Linked DNA regions of Homo sapiens: region 1 is linked to region 2. Evidence: promoter capture Hi-C in human tissues and cell types (Jung and others, 2019). All regions are on one chromosome and are shown on one strand. Each heading gives the region's core, a stretch centred on a gene start or on the middle of the fragment in contact. The rest is flanking DNA. Distances are from core to core; before and after follow the strand shown.

Region 1 (3,868 bases), core at 1,213-3,712, 550 kb before region 2:
TCAGCTCACTGCAACCTCCACCTCCCGGGTTCAAGCAGTTCTCCTGCCTCAGCCTCCTGAGTAGCTGGGATTACAGGTGCGTGCCACCACACCCGGCTAATTTTTTTCTTTTTTGTATTTTTAGTAGAGATGGGTGTTTTACCATGTTGGTCAGGCTGGTCTTGAACTCCTGACCTCGTGATCCGCCTGCCTACAGCCTCCCAAAGTGCTGGGATTACAGGCGTGAGCCACCGCGCCCAGCCCTGATTAACTTATTTTAATCTATAACTAAGGTCTAAGTCCTGAAGACCTTCCTCTGGAGCCTCAGTAAATTTACTTAATCTAAATGGGTCCAAGTGCGAGGTGATTACCCTTATCTTGTCTCCTGCTAAATCATGGAGGTTTGGGGAGTTCCTTCAGACCCCTAGTAAACTTGTTTGTGGAGGCCTGGGGTGTTTCTTCAGACCCACAATAAAATTTGTTTAATCCTAAATGGGTCCTGTTAAGAATTCCTTCATTATTTTGTCATGCTTTAAGGCCCAGGAAAGGCCTAGGCAAAACTCTTGGTGAACTTTTGTTACATTCCAGCCTTTGTATAAGCACACTGGCTCTTTCAGCAATTTTTTATTTTTTTATTTTTATTTTTATTTTTATTTTTTTTTTGAGACAAGAGTCTTGCTCTGTCACCCACAGCTGGAGTGCAATGGTGAGATCTTGGCTCACTGCAATTGCCGCCTCCTAGGTTCAAGAGATTCTCCTGCCTCAGCCTCTAGAGTAGCTGAGATTACAGGTGCGTGCCACCATGCCCAGCTAATTTTTATATTTTTAGTAGAGACGATGTTTCACTATGTTGGCCAGGCTGGTCTCGAACTCCTGACCTCAGGTGATCAACCTGCTTTGGCCTCCCAAAGTGCTGGGATTACAGGTGTGAGCCACTGCGCTCAGCCATCTTTTAATATTTAACTTAACCACTCAGTCAGTACTGAAACTGTTGTTATGGAGGCCTGCATGAGTGGGACCTGGCCTGCCACACAACCTCACTGGAGTACACCAACCTCAGATCTAATCCTGAGGACAGCCGAGGGAGGAACCTTCCAGATGGTCAGACATGGGATGGATAAGCCACTCACTTAATTCTCTGCAAAGCTGTCTCCTCCATTTGTGATGAATGGTGGTGATCTTGGACTACACAGAAGGGCAACACCCAAAAGAAAAGAGTCACTGCTCCCTCTTGAATCCGTCAAAGCAGATCGGGCTTCCATCCCCCGGCTGCCTCTCTTCGAAGCTTTCTCCTCTCAGGGCTCTCCCCGTCAGAGATCCTGTGCCCCTTCTCTCCCCAGAAAGGCAGGGAAATCCCTAGACTTGCACCTCGATATCACCTAGCTCAGGGGGTGTAAAATCAGGATGATTAAATGAGATGTTGCAAGTGTAACCCAAGTGCTCCCAGGGACACCTTAACCGGAAATAACATTCATATAAACCCACTTAAGTCTCCATCCTGCGAGGCGATGGGCCAGCCAGTGCCTTCCCAAATATCTCTGTGTGGTTACCTGCTGCCTCGGGCTCAGGTCATTGCTTGGCTGGTCACTACCTCTCCAAGCTGCTCTACCTCTCTGCAGGTGCTTCCCCCCAAGGCAGCCAGTGCTAGTGCAAGCCCGAGGCTGGGGCTGGGGATTGTCAAAGCAGGGAAGGTGGGGGGCGGGTGACAGTCCAGAATCGGATAGCACTGGAGTTGGCTGGCAGTCCTCACAATCCCTGCAGTCTGCCTGTTGCATTCTGTCATTGTGGGGAGAGGCCATCCTGCCCTCCCAGGCCTGGCCTGCTGTCCCAGGTCCGAGCCATAGACACTGGGTGAGACCCCTTTTCCCATTTCCCATTTCCTCTCTCCTCCCAGTTCCAGGATCTCCAAAACTCCCCTCTTCTGGCTAACCTGGAGAAAATCCACAATTCAGTGTACAAGGCAAAATAGTTCATGCCAAGGAAGACGCCCCTTCACTGTATTACGCACCACAGCGTATTCCTCTGTGCCTCAGTCTCTCTTACTGGCGAAAGGGGGAGAAGAGACGCTTTATCTTTGCACACCACCCTCAAAAAAAACCTGTTAAATGCTTGTCCAACAAAAGTATTAGTAATTTTTCTGGCTGAGCATGGTGGCTCACTCCTGTAATCCTGGCACTTTGGGAGGCTGAGATGGGTGGATTGCATAAGTTCAGGAATTCAAGACCAGTCTGGGCAACATGGCAAAACCCCGTCTCTACGAAAAATACAGAAATTAGTTGGGCATGGTGAGAGCATGCCTGTAGACCCAGCTACTTGGGAGGCTGAGGTGGGGGGAGGATCACTTGAGCCCAGGAGATAAAGGCTGCAGTGAGCTGAGATTGCACCACTGCCTTCCAACCTAGGCAACAGAGTGAGAGCTTGTATCAAAAAAAAAAAAAAAAAAAAAAAAAAAAAAGAAAGAAAAGAAAAAAGAAAAAGAAAAAGTATTAGTAATCTTCTAACAGAAGTTCTGTCCAGGATCTTTAGAGTATAGAGTAGAATCCAACATTTGGCTGCTGAGAAGTTCATCCAACCCACAGATGTGGTTTTTTGTTTTTCTCTTGCATGGTATAAAAAAGATTGTGAATTAGTTGCCAGCTTTTGAATCCATAGCTTTACTTAAAAATCTGGGTGACCAGCTTCCCTTGAAATATCAGAAGATCTGGCTACAGGGTTTACCTTCCCATGTGCCAACAGTCTGCTGGATGCAAGAAGCTACACTCTTAGGCAGTCATGCACTCCCCAGTTTGCCACAGTCTCCACTCCTCCCTATTGTCCCCTTGACTCAGCCAGCTTTATTTACTTAAGTCACTTGCCTGTACCATACAGACATTTAATTTCATATCCCTGGGTCCAGCTCATCAAATAGAGCTTTGTGAACCACATCAATGATTTTGGATTTTATACCAAAGCCAAGAGAAATCATCAAAAGGCTTTCCACATAGGAATGATATTGTTACTGGATAGAAGGTCTTGACTGTAAGTTGTCCAGATTCTTGGCACATTGAACAAAGAATTAAACAAAACACACAAAGCAATGAAAGAACGAAGCAACAAAAGAAGAAACAAGCAACGAAAGCGCAGATTTATTGACGTGAAAGTACAGAGCGTGAGCCGGCTCAAGCAAGTGGGTTAAAAGTCCCGATTACAATGTTCTTTAGGGTTTTTATTAAGCTAAAAGAATTTGGTGGCTGGGCGCGGTGTCTCACGCCTGTAATCCCGGGACTTTGGGAGGCCAAGGCGGCCAGATTACCTGAGATTGGGAGTTCAAGACCAGCCTGGCCAACATGGTGAAACCCGGTCTCTACTAAAAATGCAAAATTAGCTGGGCGTGGTGGCACATGCCTATAATCCCAGCTACTCCAGAGGCTGAGGCAGGAGAATCGCTTGAACCAAGGAGTTGGAGGTTGTGGTGAGCCAAGATCTCGCCATTGCGCTCCAGCCTGGGCAACAAGAGCGAAACTCCGTCTCAAAAAAAAAAAAAAAAAAAGAAAAAGAAAAGAAAAAAAGAATTTGGTAACACCCCTAGGTGCCCTTTAGAGGCCTCCAGTTGGTTACACCTTATGAAGGATTGGCCCACGACCAATCAGAGGCTGAAGTGGAAACTTCTGTCTTGTTATCATAGGAGTGAGGGTGCGGCCTGTGTGCAGCCCAGTCTTGCCTAGAACTGGCTGCATCTGCTGTTCTTTTGCTTATGCCTTAACCCATGGTTACCCTAATTCCCTATTATCCTGCCTCAATATGATTAGATTTTCATCCTTAAATCATCACTATAGATTCTGTATAGAGAATGGGATAGAAGCAGGTGGAAAATGAAAGCAAGGAGACCCACCGACCCTGGAGACCAGGC
Region 2 (3,959 bases), core at 1,161-3,660:
ACGCGCAGTAGCCCCTGGAAGGCCATGGCGGGCAGGTAAACCAGGGCGTTGTGGGCCAGGTTTAGCGTGGCCAGCGCACCCAGTGCCCCGAACGTCCCCGGCCGCAGCTCCTCCAGTGCGTTCCCCTCCAGCTCCAGCCGCCGCAACGAGCCCAGCCCGTCCAGCGCCTCCTGGGGCAGCTCACGCAGGTGGTTGGAGGCCAGGTTGAGCAGGAGCAGGCGGCCCAGGCCACGGAAGGCGCCCTCGGCCACCAGCTCCACCTCGCAGTGGCGCAGGTCCAGGTGTGTGAGGTGAGGCACGCCCTGGAAGGCGGCTGCGGGGATCACCTTCAGCAAATTGCCCTGCAGGTCCAGCCGCTGGGTCAGCTGGGGACAGCGAGGAGAAAGTGGGGCTGAGCCAGGCAGGGACCCCGCCTTTGCAAGTGCTGCTTCTTCCCCGGAACACTCTTTTCTCCTGTCACCTTTCCCATATTTCTCTTCATCCGACCCCTGACACCTCCTCCAGGAAGCCTTCCTCTCCAGTGCCCTGGGCATCACCCACTGTGGCATTTTTCACACTGTGCTGTCCCTGCCTCCTCGCTCTCTCTCCTCCACTAGCTGATGACTCTGCAGAGCAGAGACCACACCTCACCCTGCCACAGCCCGCCTCTCCACCACAGGGTCTGCAGTGAATTCAGTATCGATCTATGGGTCACCTACTTATTCCATTCACACAGTAAGGATTTTAAATAGATCATCTCCCTGTTACTGGTTTTTATTATTCCCATTTTACAGAAGTGTAAACTGAGGCTCAAAGAGAAGTAATTTGCCAAGGTCTCCCGGGCAGGCGGTGGCAGATCAACTGGTGCCCAGCCCAGGCTCCTCCCTCTGGGTCCCCACCTTGCCCCACTGCCACTCTGTGCCTGTGCTCCTGCCCTGCTGACCTCAGGGATGGCGTCTGGCACCTCAGTGAGGTTCTGGTACCGGCAGGCAACGTGTCGCCTGGAGTTGTCACAGATGCAGGCCTGTGGGCAGCGCTGGGCGGCGGCCTGCCTAGCCGGGGCCAGCAGCAGAAGTACAAGAAGCGGCAGCACCAAGGGGACATGGGTGGAGCTCCGGGGCCTGGGACGGGGAGGGAGAGTCTGTTGTGCACAAGGGCCGAGGCCACATGCTGTCCCTCACTTAGTCCCAGCCATGGTGCAGCTCCTGCCCCAAAAACCCCTCAGAGCCTCCTCCTTTGGGCCCAGGAAAGTGCCAATCACCCTGAGCCTCCCTGCCCCCCACCCCCCACGCAGTGGAGGTCCTATGATTAGTCCTGTTTTACATGGGAGGAAACCGAGGCTCAGAAAAGTGACCTGGTTAGTCCCTTTGCCTCTGCCCAATGGCTCAGTGAGGACTTGCTGACTGTGAGAATGACTCCAGTTCAGAGCATGTTCTCAGGCTGTGGTGAGGCTCTGGTCCAGGGTAGGCTCGGAAGCAGCCTGTCCTCAGACTGATATGATGCCAGCTCCCAGGTGGCAGGAGCATAATGGTACCCCCCAGAAAGGAGGGAGGCATCCAGTCCGGGTCCTTGAGTCTTTTTTTGTTTGTTTGTTTAAATAGAGACAAGCCTTGCTCTGTTGCCCAGGCTGGAGTCTGGAGTGCAGTGGAATGACTATGGCTTACTGCAGCCTTCACCTCCTGGGCTAAAGTGATCCTCTCACCTCAGCCTCTTGAGTAGCTGGGACTACAGGCACACACCACCACGCCTGGCTAATTTTTTAATTACTTCTGGTAGAGACAGGGTCTCGCTATGTTGCCCGGGCTGGTCTTGAACTCCTGGCCTCAAGTGATTGTCCCACCTTGGCCTCCCAAAGCGCTAGGATGATAGATCACCTCCCCTGCCCAGCTGGCCCCTCTGTTCTCAGCCTGTGTCAGGCATGGCCTCTCCCCCATCGCTGGGCTGTTCCCCGGCCCCCAGGAGCCTCCCCCTCGCTGCTCACTGGACTATCGTCTGTTTTGGAGTCTCCTTTGGGTCCCAGGCTCCAGCCCCTGCGTTGGAGTTGGTGGCTTCTCCAGAGCCTGTGGTGAAGGCTGTGCCTCAGGGCAGGCCAGGGAGGGGACCCATGGGGACAGATCGCTGAAGCGACAAGCATTCATAATGCAGGGACCACTGCTGGGCTCTCAGACAAGCCCCAGAGGACCAGTTCCTGGCAGTGGCCACATTGCCACGTGTCTCAGAGCCCACCTTGGGAGACCCCCTTCCTGGAGAACCCCAGGAAGTCCCCAGAGCCCCTGCCCGCCAGCCTCTGAGAGGCCCAGAGGGGGCAGAGACTTACCTGAGGCCACTGAGCTGCTCTGAATCCCCCCTTGCACCATCGGGCCCAAAGACTCACCCCTCCATGCCGCCTGGAACTGCTGGTCCAGCCTGGAGGCGCAGCGCAGGGACAGGCTGTCCCCGCCTGGCAGGAGCCCCCCTCCACGGCCCGCAGGCCTGGCAGCTGGGACAGGGCTGAATGGGAGGCATTGTCGGCAGACCAGGCAAGCCAGGCTTCCCCAGGCTGAGGTGAAGAAGGGGCGGGCGGCGGGCGGGAGCAGCGGCTGGAGTTACAGGGCCTCCTGCCTGCCCCAGCCGAGGACTGAGGCCCCGGCCTGAATCCTTGGGCCAGCCCGACAGGGAGGGGGCACCAGCAGCTGGCCCGGGAGTCAGCAGTCCTGGGCTCCCTCCTGCCATGTGGGCTGCCCTCCCAGAGGCTGCTTCCTAGTCTCTGAAAAACACATCCCATTAATAAGTAGCTCTGAGGTCACAGTGGGGGTTCAGGCCCGCACCTGGCACACAGTGGGTGCTTCAGAACAGGTGACCCTTTCCTTCCGTTTGTGCTTACACATTGACATAAATAGTTTAATACTGGACACACAGGATTCTAGACACTCATTTTTTTCACTTAACCTCAGATTACTGGGAGTTATCCAAATTGACTCTTCCGAATCTCATTATTCTGTGGTATATAGTATTCCATTGTGTAAATGTATCACATTGACTTAGCCATTCATCTTGGACATTGGCTACCTCCAATTTTTTGCTATTTACAAACAATATTGCAAAGAATATCCAAATACGCATCTTCCCAAGCTCGTGTTTGTTTTTTAAATAATACATCCAGACCATGGCCAATGTTCATGTATCTTGATTTTTCAGATTCCTGCTTCTGATGGAATTGCATCTTCTACTGTTTGTTCCTTTAATTGGAAACAGGGGTCAGGCACAGTGGCTCATGCCTGTAATCCCAGCACTTTGGGAGGCTGAGGTGGGAGGATCACTTGAGCCCAGGAGTTTGAGACCAGCCTGGGCAACACAGACTCTGTCTCAAGAGAAAAAAAAAAGGCCGGGCGCGGTGGCTCACGCCTGTAATCCCAGCACTTTGGGAGGCGGAGGCGGGTGGATCACGAGGTCGAGATCAAGACCATCCTGGCTAACACAGTGAAACCCTATCTCTACTAAAAGTACAAAAAATTAGCCGGGTGTGGTGGCAGGCGCCTGTAGTCCCAGCTACTTGGGAGGCTGAGGCAGGCAAATGGCATGAACGCGAGAGCCGAGATGGCGCCACTGCACTCTAGCCTGGGCAACAGAGTGAAACTGTCTCAAAAAAGAAAAAAAATATATACATATATATATATATATATATATATATATATATATATATATATATATATATGTATGTGTGTGTGTATACACTTATGTGTGTATATATTTATATATAATAAAAATATAAATGTATATGTTTATATATATTTATATATGTTAAACAATGAACATCTGTGTGTACTTTTCCTAGACTGCAGGAGTTTTTTGTTTTTTGAGACAGAGTCTCACTTTATCGCCCAGGCTGGAGCTCACTGCAACCTCCACCTCCCTGGTTCATGCGATTCTCCTGCCTCAGCTTCCCAAGTAGCTGGGATGACAGATGTGTACCACCACATCTGGTTAATTTTTGCATTTTT

The links. The method cuts DNA at HindIII sites, captures the fragments that hold promoters and counts their contacts. A contact is called where the count stands out against the background at its distance.
Region 1: a fragment that was not itself captured here is called in contact with the fragment with the promoter of CHADL in region 2 in 1 of the 25 tissues and cell types used here (lymphoblastoid cells).

The regions. Positions count from the first base shown.
Region 1 is chr22:40,688,942-40,692,809 of GRCh38, forward strand. No RefSeq gene overlaps it. Among named protein-coding and RNA genes, the nearest start is that of MCHR1, 11 kb to the left of the region's middle. The HindIII fragment of the contact is 4,122 bases long and covers 402-3,868 here.
Region 2 is chr22:41,238,521-41,242,479 of GRCh38, forward strand. It overlaps CHADL (chondroadherin like), which reads right to left and starts at 2,411. Exons shown (of 6, transcript NM_138481.2): 1 at 2,354-2,411; 2 at 923-1,100; 3 at 1-365. The coding sequence starts at 2,361. RefSeq lists enhancers at 1-564, 2,014-2,514, 2,515-3,015. The HindIII fragment of the contact is 27,215 bases long and covers 1-3,959 here.